Linked DNA regions of Homo sapiens: region 1 is linked to region 2. The links are contacts of gene promoters, found by promoter capture Hi-C in blood cells and fetal thymus (Javierre and others, 2016). All regions are on one chromosome and are shown on one strand. The core of a region is centred on a gene start or on the middle of the fragment in contact, and the rest is flanking DNA. Distances in the headings are between cores, read along the strand shown. Region 1 has its middle 33 kb from the start of WFIKKN2. Region 2 holds the start of ABCC3 (ATP binding cassette subfamily C member 3).

Region 1 (7,544 bases), core at 36-2,535, 170 kb before region 2:
CCTGGGGGCAGCTTCTCCCCCTATTCCAACCACGTGGCCCTAGTGGGGCTGCCATGCCATCCCGGAACCCTACCTGATGCAGGGTCTCTGCAGCTCAGCCTTTCCCACATGCGGAGCGGCCAAGTGTGCAGCTGAAGTTTTTGGTTGATTCTAGCAAATTCCCCCTTTCTGCCCAAGCTGGCTCATGTTGGATTTTGTCACTTTCAAGCCAGAGTCCTCACGGGGGCAGCTCCATCTCCCACCACAAATCCCAGGTGCTCCCTGAAGTGGAGAAAATGGGGCATCCTGCCTGGGCCCAGACTAGCACCCCCCCACAATATAATAACTCTGTGGGGTCCCCAGGTGTTTCATTTAACTTTGAGCTTCCTGGATGAACAGCATGGAGCTCCAATATTCATAAAAACTGGACCTCTGGGGCACGCCCAGGCTTGTCGAGACCCTGGAGGTCAGAAAGTGCAAGAAAGTTCTCCAGGTGTTCCTTGGACAGTTTGCACCTGGTAACTGACCCTTGGCTTGTGGGATTCCCCCCACCCCATGTCATTCCCCCCACCCCATGTGGCTAATGAATGGATCCTGCAGGGAGTCACCATTCGCCTGGATAACGTCCTTGGGTGCCGTCCAGTGGGGCCTGGAAAAAGTTGCTGGCTTAGGCAGCATCGCCTCCAAGCCAGCTGTTCCTAAGGACTGTGTTCCCACATGCAGAACACCTGGGCCCTCCTCTGTCCAGCCAGGACTTCTGCGTGTGCTGAACTGGCTATTGACACTTCCTAGGTAGATTCCCCAGTGTCTGTCTGACCAGCAACCCTCCTCACCTCCTCCTCAGAACTTATTGTGGAATCAGAAAGTATAAGATTTCCCCTTGGGGACGAGTAGTACAGAATGAGTCCAGGTGTGGTGGCTCACACCTGTAATCCCAGCACTTTGGGAGGCTGAGGCAGGGGATCACTGGAGGTCAGGAGTTCAAGACCAGCCTGGCCAACATGGTGAAACCCTGTCTCTACTAAAAATACAAAAGTTAGCTGGTCATGGTGGTGTGCGCCTGTAGTCCCAGCTACTCAGGAGGCTGAGGCAGAATTGCTTGAATCTGGGGGGTGGAGATTGCAGTGAGCCGAAATCACACCACTGCACTCTAGCCTGGATGACAGGGCAAAACTCTGTCCAGACTCTGTCTAAAAAATAAAAAAAAAAACTGTAGGGCACGGTGGCTCACGCCTGTAATCCCACCACTTTGGAAGGCCAAGGCGGGCAGATCACCTGAGGTCGAGAGTTCAAGACCAGCCTGGCCAACATGGAGAAACCCCATCTCTACTAAAAATACAAAAGTAGCCAGGTGTGGTGGTGCATGCCCGTAATCCCAGCTACTTGGGAGGCCGAGGCAGGAGAATCGCTTGAATCCGGGAGGTGGAGGTGGAGGTTGCGGTGAGCTGAGATTGCGCCATCACACTCCAGCATAGGCAACAAGAGTGAAACTCTGTCTCAAAAAAAAAGTACAGAATGACAATTATGAAAATCAATTTTGTTTAATCTTTTCTAAAATGGAACAATGAACCAAGCAATTTCCTGGGCCCAAAAAAAGAAGCAGTATTGCGGTTATTAAAATAGTGTTTACTTTGTGCTGATGGGAAAAGATGTGAAATATTAATGACTCCACGGAGCCCCGATTATGTGACTCATTAGGCAAAGGCCCTATGTGCAATTAAAGTAGACTCTTCAGTGTCTATCTTAAGTGACTTTGTGTTTTGTCCAGCCACTCCATACACAAGGATGAGTGGCCAGGTGCAGAGGCTCATGCTTGTAATCCCAGCACTTTGGAAGGCCGAAGCAGGAGGATCGTGAAGCCTAGGAGTTCGAGACCAGCCTGGGCAACATAGTGGGACCCTCATCTCCATAAAAAAAAAACCAAAAAAGCAAAAACAACAAAAAAAAAAGAGAGAGAAAAAGATAATTTTTGTTGTTCTAATTTTTTTCTACAGAGCCTTTTTCATATAACTTTGTGCCTCGGGTTCCTCATCTGTACAATGGGATAATAGTACTTACTCCATAGGAATATTTTGAGGATTTACGACATATAACTCACTTAAAAACTGTGCCTGATGCCGGGCGTGGTGGCTCACGCCTGTAACCCCAGCACTTTAGGAGGCCAGGGAAGGCGAATCACTTGAGGTCAGGAGTTCATGACCAGCCTGGCCAACATGGTGAAACCCTGTCTCTACTAAAAATGCAAAAAATTAGCTGCAAATCGCTTAAACCTGGGAGGCGGAGCTTGCAATGAGCTGAGATCTGCCACTGCACTCTAGCTTGGGCGACAGAGCGAGACTCCATCTCAAAAACAAACAAACAAACAAAAAACTGTGCCTGAAAAGTAGGAACAATAAAATACATGAGTCATTATCATCCCCATTATCATCATTATAAATCTCGAGGATGTAGAACACACTTTAGGTAACTGAGTGAAATGAAGCTCGATAGCACAGGACACAGTCATGGTTCAGGACCTGCACCCACTGTCAATCACTTCAGCTGCAAATACGCTCAGCAAACTCACTGGGTTCTTGTCCTTTGTTTTGTGTTTCTTTTTCCCCATCTAAACTAGGTCCCTCTGTTTCACTTACTAAGCGAGACCAGTCTGCTGTTTTTCTCTGCAGATACTGGCTTTAAGAAAAAGGTGCCTCTGGCTGTTTCTGAGTTTTAATGAAAGCAAAGCTTCTTTCTTTCCCCAAGACTCTGCCGCAGGCTGCAGGGTGAGGCCTGTGATTCAAACTGAACTCGTTTCTCCCACCTAAAGAGGTTACAAGCCAGACCCTTTGGATCTCTTTCTCCGGACTTTTCTGCCAAGCTTGCCTCACAGGTGCAGGGGGCAGGACTGGAAGGAGGTGGCCTGGAGCTGCTGAAGCCCACAGGGGCTGGGTCTCTAACGGTGGCCTGTGAGGTCTTCAGAGACACCCCAGTTGCTGCCATTCTCAGCTTCCTGGTGTCCTTCCAATCGGGGCCTGTTGTTTGGTTTGGTTTTGACTCGTTTGAGTATACTTCCTAGGGTTCACCAGAGACACAAGAAACACCTACAGCCAGGCACGGTGGCTCCCGCCTCTAATCCCAGCATTTGGGATGCCAAGGTGGGCGGATCACTTGAGCCCTGGAGTTGGAGACCAGCCTGGGCAACATAGTGAGATCTTGTCTCTACTAAAAATAAAAAATTAGCCGAGTGTTGTGGCGCACGCCTGTGGTCCCAGCTACTTGGGAGGCTGAGGCAGGAGGATTGCTTGAGGATGGGAGGTTGAAGCTTCAGTGAGCCATGATTGTGCCACTGCACTCCAGCCTGGGCCACAGAGCAAGACCCTGTCTCAAAAAAACAAAACAAAACAAAAGTGAAACACTGTCACCTTTTTTCTTCCCCTCCTGCCTCACAGCCAGCCTCCTAGAGAAGGAGAAAGGCCTGGTAGCAGCATGAGCTGCCAGGAGCTGAGAAACCCATTTCTGTCTGTCCTCCTTGTTCCTGAGCCACTTCACCTAGGGGAGTGCTATTTGTGCTCTGGTGGGGACATAAAATTGCAACAGGAAGCCAGCACAGGTGACCTCTGCCCCTGTCTATTTGGAGAAAGTTGGTCCTAGCTGAGGTCAACACCCCAGGCACAATTACACCCACAGTAAAGCGGGGGGATGAACCACTTTACAGGGTCTGGCTCCCCAAGATGGTACATCAGCACATCAGAACATAATCATCCAAAGAAAATGACTTGGCTTGTGCCTCGTGAGAGTTCAAATTCCACATCAGCTCCAGGCTAGGGGGAGTCAAAACTGCTGAACAGATACAGAATAGCCGGAGATGAAAGCTAAGAGATCTCAGGACCTAACGGCTTTGTGGCTGTCTGTATTAGACAGGATCAGTTAATGCTGCAAGAAACAAGCCTGAGAATGATAATGGCACAAGCGTAGTGAGGTGGAATTCTCATTCACATAAACAGTCACAGGTGGGCCCAGTCCCTGGAGCTGGGGGAGGAGCTCTCTGCCACAGAGGTCTTCAATTACCCGGGATCTGTCACCTTCAACACATGGCTCCCAAGATCACTTGGGATGTTGACATCCAGCAATGAAAGGGGAAAGGGCATGAAGAACTGGTGAAGTGGGGAAGGCTTTTATAGTTACAGGCAGGCCTAGAAAAGCAGTCACATTTCATCAGACTGTTCCCTCCACTGAGATGGAACTCAATCTCACGGCCACATCTAACTGCAAGAGAAGCTGGGCATACAGTCTTGCTGTGTGCCCAGATGAAAAGAGAGCACCCAGCAATGCTTGTCACACCATCCAGCTGTGGCTGCTATAGATGTGAGGGTCAACTGTGTGCAGCATCTCTGCTCCCAAATCACGGAGCCATTGTGGCAGCCTCAGAGGATGACTGCTAGGGAACACTGGGCTGTCCTAGACCATCAACTCCACTAGCTGTACCCTCCTTCTCTCCAGAGATGGCCACCACTCAAAGCTTCACTCCTCAGAGGGCTACTACAGTCTACTGTGAATTACCCTCCAGGATTCTGGAGGCTCCTTCCATCATGGAGGACCCTGTCTAGCACTTGTGACCCTTGACCCTGACCTCAGACCGAGAGCCCATCTAGGGTCCCAGGGCTAAGGATTTCATTCCAGGTGAACCCCCTGGTACCTGCATCCCACTGCCTCCACGGTTCTACCACCACCCTGAGAGCAGAGAACCCCTCAAGAAGACAGCATCGGCCATTTGTTACCTTGACTCATGCCAACCCTAGCCACTGCCGCTCTCTCCATGAATGATCCAGCCACCTGAAGTCCAGTTCCTGGCCCAGGTTGGATAAGCATGGCCACCTGTCCACCACTTACCACCCAACAGCCAAGGACCAAAGAGAACTTCTCAGCCATATCTCCCAGGAGTTAGGACAACAGCAGGATGAAGCTGAAACAGCCTCGGGTTCAGGTCGTCCTGGCTTCACATCTCTTCTCTGCTACTGACTAGCAGAGCTTCTTGCTTAAGTCACTTACCTCTCTCTGAACCTCAGCACCCAGGCTATAATGCCCCTGTGCAGGACTCGATGAAATAGTGTGCACAAAGCCCTGGCTCAGTGCCTGGCGTGCAGTAGGCCATCAGCCGAGTGCTGTTATAATGGGGGCTCTTTGCTGCTACAATGCAGCACCTTAGACCCTGGGGGTAATGATTCACTCAGGCTTCCATCCAGGGTGAATGGTCCCAAAGCAGCTGCAAGCTGAAGCTCCTGCTCAGCCAGCAATGCCCAAGGGAACTTGATCAGGAGCAGCTCTTCCCCCTCCTCCTCCTCCTCCTCTTCCTCCTTCTCCTCTTCCTCCTCTTCCTCCTCCTCCTCTAAGAAGGCTGCTCCCCAGCCTTCATAACTGCTGTGCACAAGGAACAAGTTTCCAGCTGCCTGTCAGCCTGTGGCAAGCCCGCTGGCTTCGACCTCCTTCACGCTGCACTCACGGAGGCCACCTCCCAATCACCAAAGCCAATGATACATTCAGTTCTTGCATCACTTGACTTCTTGGCTGCATCTGATGCTACTGACAATCCCATCTTCCCTAACCATCCTCCGCCTGCCTTCTGAAGGCCACTTTCTATCTCTTCCAGCCACTTATACACTCTCTCTGACCAGCTCCTCTTCCCGGCCTTCCCTCCCCATGCTGACATTCCGAAAGGTGCGTCCTGGGCCACTTGTCTGCTCTGCGGGGTCATTCTCCCAGGTGGTCACACCACTGCCATGTGTTGGACCAATGACTTCCAAACAATTCCTGGCACCCCAGCAGCTTGCCCACTGCAGCCAGGATGATCCAATTCACAAATTGGATCAAGTCTTTACACGGCTTAAAACCCATCAGTGCCGTCCCGTGGCTCAGAAGATTAAACCCAAGCTCCCTGGTACAGACGCCGTGTCGTCTGACTCCTGCCTGTGTCCTTGGCCTCAGCGCTTGCCCTTCCTGGCATCGGGGCTCATCCCATTCCTGAGGGATGACTGGCACCCTCGGAGAGCCCCAGGGTCTCCAGGTCTCGGTTCCTTTGACTTGCATGCACTCTACCTGGAACATGTCCCCACTGGAGAATGCTCCCTGCCTCTCCAAACCAGATCCAGGGCCCTTCCCCAAGCCCCCTCCTCTGAGTGTGGCTGACCTCAGCATCTCTCCTGTTGTTTTGCTTTGGTCTCCCGGTCCGCATGCCCCTGCTATGTAATAAGTACTGGGTGAATGTTGGTGGAGCAAAGGAGGGAATTAATGACCAAGCCAGCCTGACTCTGAGGTGGGCTTGAGCTGACTCAGTGCTGTCTTAGGTCCTCCTGCTGGAAACCTGGCCCAGAGCTGAGCGGGCTTTGCACCCCTCCCTGACCCCAGCCTCACAGCCGCCTCCACCAGGGCCCAGTGGCTGGCCAGGGACTGTTGGTCAGGAAGCCCAGGCTGGAAACCTGGCTCCCTCCCTCCCTGCTAACACCTTGGAGCAGATCTGTGGGGAGAATTCTCCACTTGAAAGAAAAGCACCAGGTCTCCCCTCCTTCCCTGCCTTCCTGAGAGCCCCTGTCACCGCTGCATTCTTGCTGAGGCTGGAGGAGATTAACCGGAGGCTGGTGGCAGCAGCCGGTGCCCTAAGCTGCGTGCTGCGTGTTCCCAGCATGGCACCACTCACAAGCCGCCCTGGAAGGAAGGTTCTGGTGGTAGGAGCTGGATTTGGTCACCCAGGCATGGGCTGTGAAAGCCCCCACAGCTCCTGGCTCTGCCAGGTCGGCGGTTGCTGCAGGCCGGTGTGAGGGTGGGGATGCCACAGTCCAAGGGTGTTCAGGGTCAGAGCTTCTTAGGGAAAGGTAAATTACCCCACAGGGTGTTATGGGTAGGACCATGTTCCTATCACAAGATATGCTCAAGACCTAACCCCTAGTATCTCAGAATGTGACGTATTTGAAAATAGGATTGTTGCAGATGAAATTAGCAAAGGTGAGGTCATACTGGAGTGTAGGGTGGGTTCTTAATCCAATAGGACTAGTGTCCTTATGAAAGAAGAGAAGAGACAGAGAGACAGACATATGCTCCTGCTCTGTGTGAAAGAAAGAAGACGCGGAGACTTCGGGGAGGCAGCCGCAAGTCTGGGCCTGCCAGGAGGACTGGCAACCACCGGAAGCCAGAAAAGAGGCAAGAAGTCTTCCCCCTCCAGGCTTGGAGGGAGCAGGCCCGTCCACACCTGAATTCCAGACTCCTGGCCTCCAGAACCGTGAAGCAATACCCTTCTGTTGTTTGCAGCTGCCTAGTGTGTGGTACTTAGTTAAGGCAGCTCTAGAAGCAAATACACAGGGCCTCAGACGGGGAGGCCTCAGATTAGAGGGAAATGCCTCTGACTCCCTATGGTGATTGAGACACTGTCATATTCGTTCCTGTCCCCAGCCTTGCTTGTGAGGCCAAGAAAAGCAAAGGCTGAGTAATGACAATGCTAGGCAGAGGGAAGTCTAGCTAACGTCAGGCCTCCTGCTCTCTCCTGATCCAGGGGTAGAAGGAAACAGACCGTGGGCTGCTGGATGAGGCGTCTCCCC
Region 2 (4,002 bases), core at 1-2,500:
ATGACCACAGAGAAGCACCTTTAATCTGAGCTCCCTCTGTAAAACGGAGACCACATGATCACTTGCCTCATAGAGGCAAGTAAGTTTTGCAAGTTGGTAAGAAAGCTCCTAGGCTGTATGCACTTAGCTCACCTGAACTGTGCTGGAGGCTGGAGTCAGCAGGCTGAAGAGCAGCCTGTCTTAGAAAGAGATTTGGAGTGAGAGTCACCAAAGGCTTGATTTTCTTTTCTTATTTATTTATTTTTTTAGAGACAGGGTCTCACTCTTTCGCCCAGGCCACAGTGCAGTGGTGCGATCATAGCTCACAGTAATCTAAAACTCCTGGGCTGAAGTGATCCTCCCACCTCTGCCTCCCAAAGGGTGGGATTACAGGCGTGAACCACTGCACCTGGCCTGTAGCCTGTTTTTCTATCCCAGCTCTGCCTTCATTGAACTGGGTAACTTTGGGCAAGTCCCTTCCTCTCTCTGGGCCTCCCTTTCTCCATCTGTGAGAAGGGAGTTGGACTACAGGAATCCTGACACCCTGCACCTGTCTCCAGACTGGGGTCTGCTTCTCCCTTCTGAGTCCGGAGTGGTGGGGATGGCCTGCTCTCAGACCTCAGTCTTACCTAGAGAAAAGAAGGTGGCAGGAAACCTTCCTAAGAAGGGTGGGACACTGCACAGCCGGCCTCCCAAAACACCTGGTTGAGCAGGTGCTCTGGATGCCCTGGGGGCAATCCATGCCCAGGTGGGCAACCGAGTCCTAACCTGAGGCAGATGCTGAGGGAAGACCCTCCATCAGGAACCCGCGGCTGATTGCGAAACGCCCCTTCCGCACCCGACGGAGGGGCTGGGATGGAGCCGACTCACCCAGCCACGCACTGTGCCTTTGCGCCCCAGCCGCGCACTCTTCCTCACTTTCCCGGGCTCCCCAGTGCTGCAGCCGGGAAGGGCAGAGCAGGGCAGGTCCCCGACACCGCGTGGGACCCGGCTCCGGGCGGCGCAGCCAACCTCCCTCCCGAGCCCATCGCCCCCTCCCGGGCGCCCAGGCCGTCTCAGGGGCTCCGTCCCGGGATACCTGCCGGCCCCGCGGGAAGGCAGGCGGCGGGGACCGGGCGAAGCCGGCCGACCCTGGCCCCCGCGCAGTGACCCCGGAGCCCCGCGCCTTACCCAGAACTTGGAGCCGAGCTCCCCGGAACCGCACAGGGCGTCCATGGGGCCGAGGCGCGGCTGCAAGGAAGGCGAGCGCGGTCGGACCCAGCGGCGGGCAGAGCGGGCGCCGGAGCCGCCTCCGCCCTCCGCACCCCGCGCTCCGCCCGGACCCGCCCTGCCGAGCCCTACCCCAGTGCCTCTGGGTCCGGTCTCCCTGCCCCCGTCCCGCGGGTTGCGACAGCGCCTCCCTGGGAGGGACTTTGGGGCAGAGGTGGGGGGGCCCTTGGCACGGCGACAGCCCCTGCGAGCGGCCCCTGGGCCAAGCCAGGGGGATGTCTCTCTAAATACCGAGGCTAACAGTCCAGGAGTCGAGTCTATTTCCAAGGGGGAACTGGGATACACAGGCGCTCCCACTCCCGAACAAGTCCGTGGGGCCGATGAGTCATTGAGTAGGGGACGTAGGGAGAGGGATTTAACAATCTTTCCTAGTAAAAAAGGAATCTTTGAGAAGGTCACGTTCCTCTCCGGAGGTCAGTTTCCTCATCTGTAAAATGGGAAGGGCTTCTGTGCTCAATCAGGAAGCTGACCTCTTCCCCATCAGGTTCCAGAGACCACTGGCAGGCGCCACACGGGGAGCACACGGGGTGTGCTCCGCGGGTGTGTACCCGTGAGGCGGGGGTGGGGGCCGCAGCATCGTCCAGCGGGGGCCTCTTATGTCCTCTTAAACTGCTGCCCTCTTAGGCTCTGTGGCTCCCTGACCTTGCCACATCACCTCGGCACGTCTCTGGGCCTCTACTTTCACATCCGTAAAATAGAGACAATCATAGAAGAGAATCTTCCTCCCAGGGTTCTCTGAGGATTGAATGGAAAGGGTAGGCAAAGCGTATTTCCTGGCACACTTAGTGGGCACCCAACATGTGTGAATTCCCTCTGCTTCAGCCTGATCAGGGTTGGGGGGGGAAGGACAGGTGAAGCCCCAGGAGGAGCCCCACGTGAGTGTCCTCGTCCTCGTCCTCCTCCTAAGGCTGAAACTCTACATTCCTGATCTGTAAAATGGGCTTGTCAGTGCTCTCCTTCTCCTGCTTGCCTCAGCTCTCCTTCTCCCGGTATCCCCTCAGATGCGGGGATCCCTCCATCTCTCAATCCCGCTGTTGCCCTGTCTTCCTTAACACAATCCCAGACGCCAACTCAGCACCGCTTGTTGGGGCTCAGAAGGAATTCTCCCTGGCAAATCTTTCCCTGGCCCTTCTCTTCCCTGCCTTTGCCCACAGGTCTGTCCAGTTTCACCCCGGTGACCCCTTTTCTGGCCCTTGTTCTCAAGAGAAGGTGTTTCCTTCCTTGGCTGCTCAGCGGCAGGTGTGGGTGGGAGCCAGTAAGAGTGCAGAAGGGGCAAGCCACCTCCTATCTCTCTGGGCAGCCAGGAGGTCACTAGAAGGGAAGTCTCCTTGGCTATAGGCTATCAGAACCAAGATCTGGCTGGGCATGGGATAGGGGTGGGAGTGGAGAAGATTCCCCTTTCCCAGGCAGTCAGACCAGGGACTTCTACCCCTCCACTGGGCAAGTTCTTTCAGCCCCTTCTTTGTCTGCCCTCTTCCTTTCCACTCATCCACACATACCCTCCCTCTCCTGTCCCCCTACCTTCATCTCTGGGCAAAATACTTTACAGAGCTTTACACCTTGTTACGGCGTGCCTTGGATTATATTTAGTTATGAAGAGTCTGTCTTCCCTGCTAATCTGAGAGGTCCCCAAGGGCAGGGACTAACTCAGTCCCCTCCAATCCCCCTCCATACCTTTTATACACTGTGTGATCTCAATAAGCTCCTTGATGCCTCTGGGACTTCATTTCTTGAGAAACGTGGACAGGGTGATATCTAAGCTCTCTTCCAGCCCTGGTGGGCCAGGCTTCTATGGCCTAGGCAGCTGGGAACCTTCCTCCACCCCTTCCATGACCCTGGTCATGGCTTCATCAGCACCCACTGCCCCTGTGTTTTGACCTTGTCTACCCACCGGCTTCCTCCAACTCTCCCTCCTCTCCCATTCCTTTTCTAGGGCTTGTGGGGTCATAGGCACCAGATTGCTCTGGGCTTGAGGAGACCTGGGGACTTTCCTTTAGGGCCCTTTGGGAGGTGAGCTCCCCAATCAGACCTCCTTTCTGAGATGGAGAGCCCAGAACTAGCCTGAGCTTCCGTCCGGGACTTTCCAGCCCCACAGTTGGCCAGGCAGTGCACTGGCTGGAGCTCTAGTTTTGGGCTAGGACCCTTGGGTTCTGGCTTCAGCATCGGAGCTGAAGCACCATCCCTTGCAGCCCCAGGCTTTTCTATCGCTATTGCTTTCCCAAGGCTATAGCACTGGGTTGGGCACTCTGAGGGCGTGGTGGGGGCCCTTAGCGATCCTCACCTTCCCCCATCTCTCTTGAGGTATTGGGGCTTTACCCCTCCAGGCCACTCAGGAAGTGTGTCCCCTTTCACAGAGCCCTTGAATAATAACCACAATATTTCTAGGATGTTATTGTTTTGGTTGTTCTCACCAGAGCAAGAAATCTGAGGCCCTGAGACACCCTACAGCTTGCTCAGCGCCACAGAGCTTATCCCAGCACACGCAGGAGGCGCCCCACGTCTGCCGAGGAGACTGTTTCTGCGCAGTCTCCTTGAGCGGGATGCACTTCCTGTATCTGTCTTCAAGGCTGCTTGGTGCACTCTCCTACCTACACCCTACCTCCCTTTCTGCAAGTGGCAAACTTCTTCAAGAGTTCGCTCAAGCCCCCCTCCCCGTCAAAGCCTTCCTTGGACCTCCCCAACCCAGTCCTGGGCTAGGAGGCTTCCCCCACTTGTAATCACTGATGTCTTGCTTACCTCCCCCAGAGGACTGTG

What was found. Contacts are between HindIII fragments. The CHiCAGO score rates a contact against its expected background, and 5 or more counts as called.
Region 1: a contact is called between a fragment that was not itself captured here and the fragment with the promoter of ABCC3 in region 2, in 2 of 17 cell types (naive CD4 T cells and naive B cells). The highest score is 5.5, in naive CD4 T cells.

What each region holds. Positions count from the first base shown.
Region 1 is chr17:50,798,830-50,806,373 of GRCh38, reverse strand. No RefSeq gene overlaps it. Among named protein-coding and RNA genes, the nearest start is that of WFIKKN2, 33 kb to the left of the region's middle. RefSeq lists a silencer at 1-207 and enhancers at 6,138-6,687, 6,688-7,238, 7,239-7,544. The HindIII fragment of the contact is 2,841 bases long and covers 1-2,705 here.
Region 2 is chr17:50,632,129-50,636,130 of GRCh38, reverse strand. ABCC3 (ATP binding cassette subfamily C member 3) reads right to left here and starts at 1,250. Exons shown (of 31, transcript NM_003786.4): 1 at 1,150-1,250. The coding sequence starts at 1,194. RefSeq lists a silencer at 1,231-1,280. The HindIII fragment of the contact is 5,138 bases long and covers 1-4,002 here.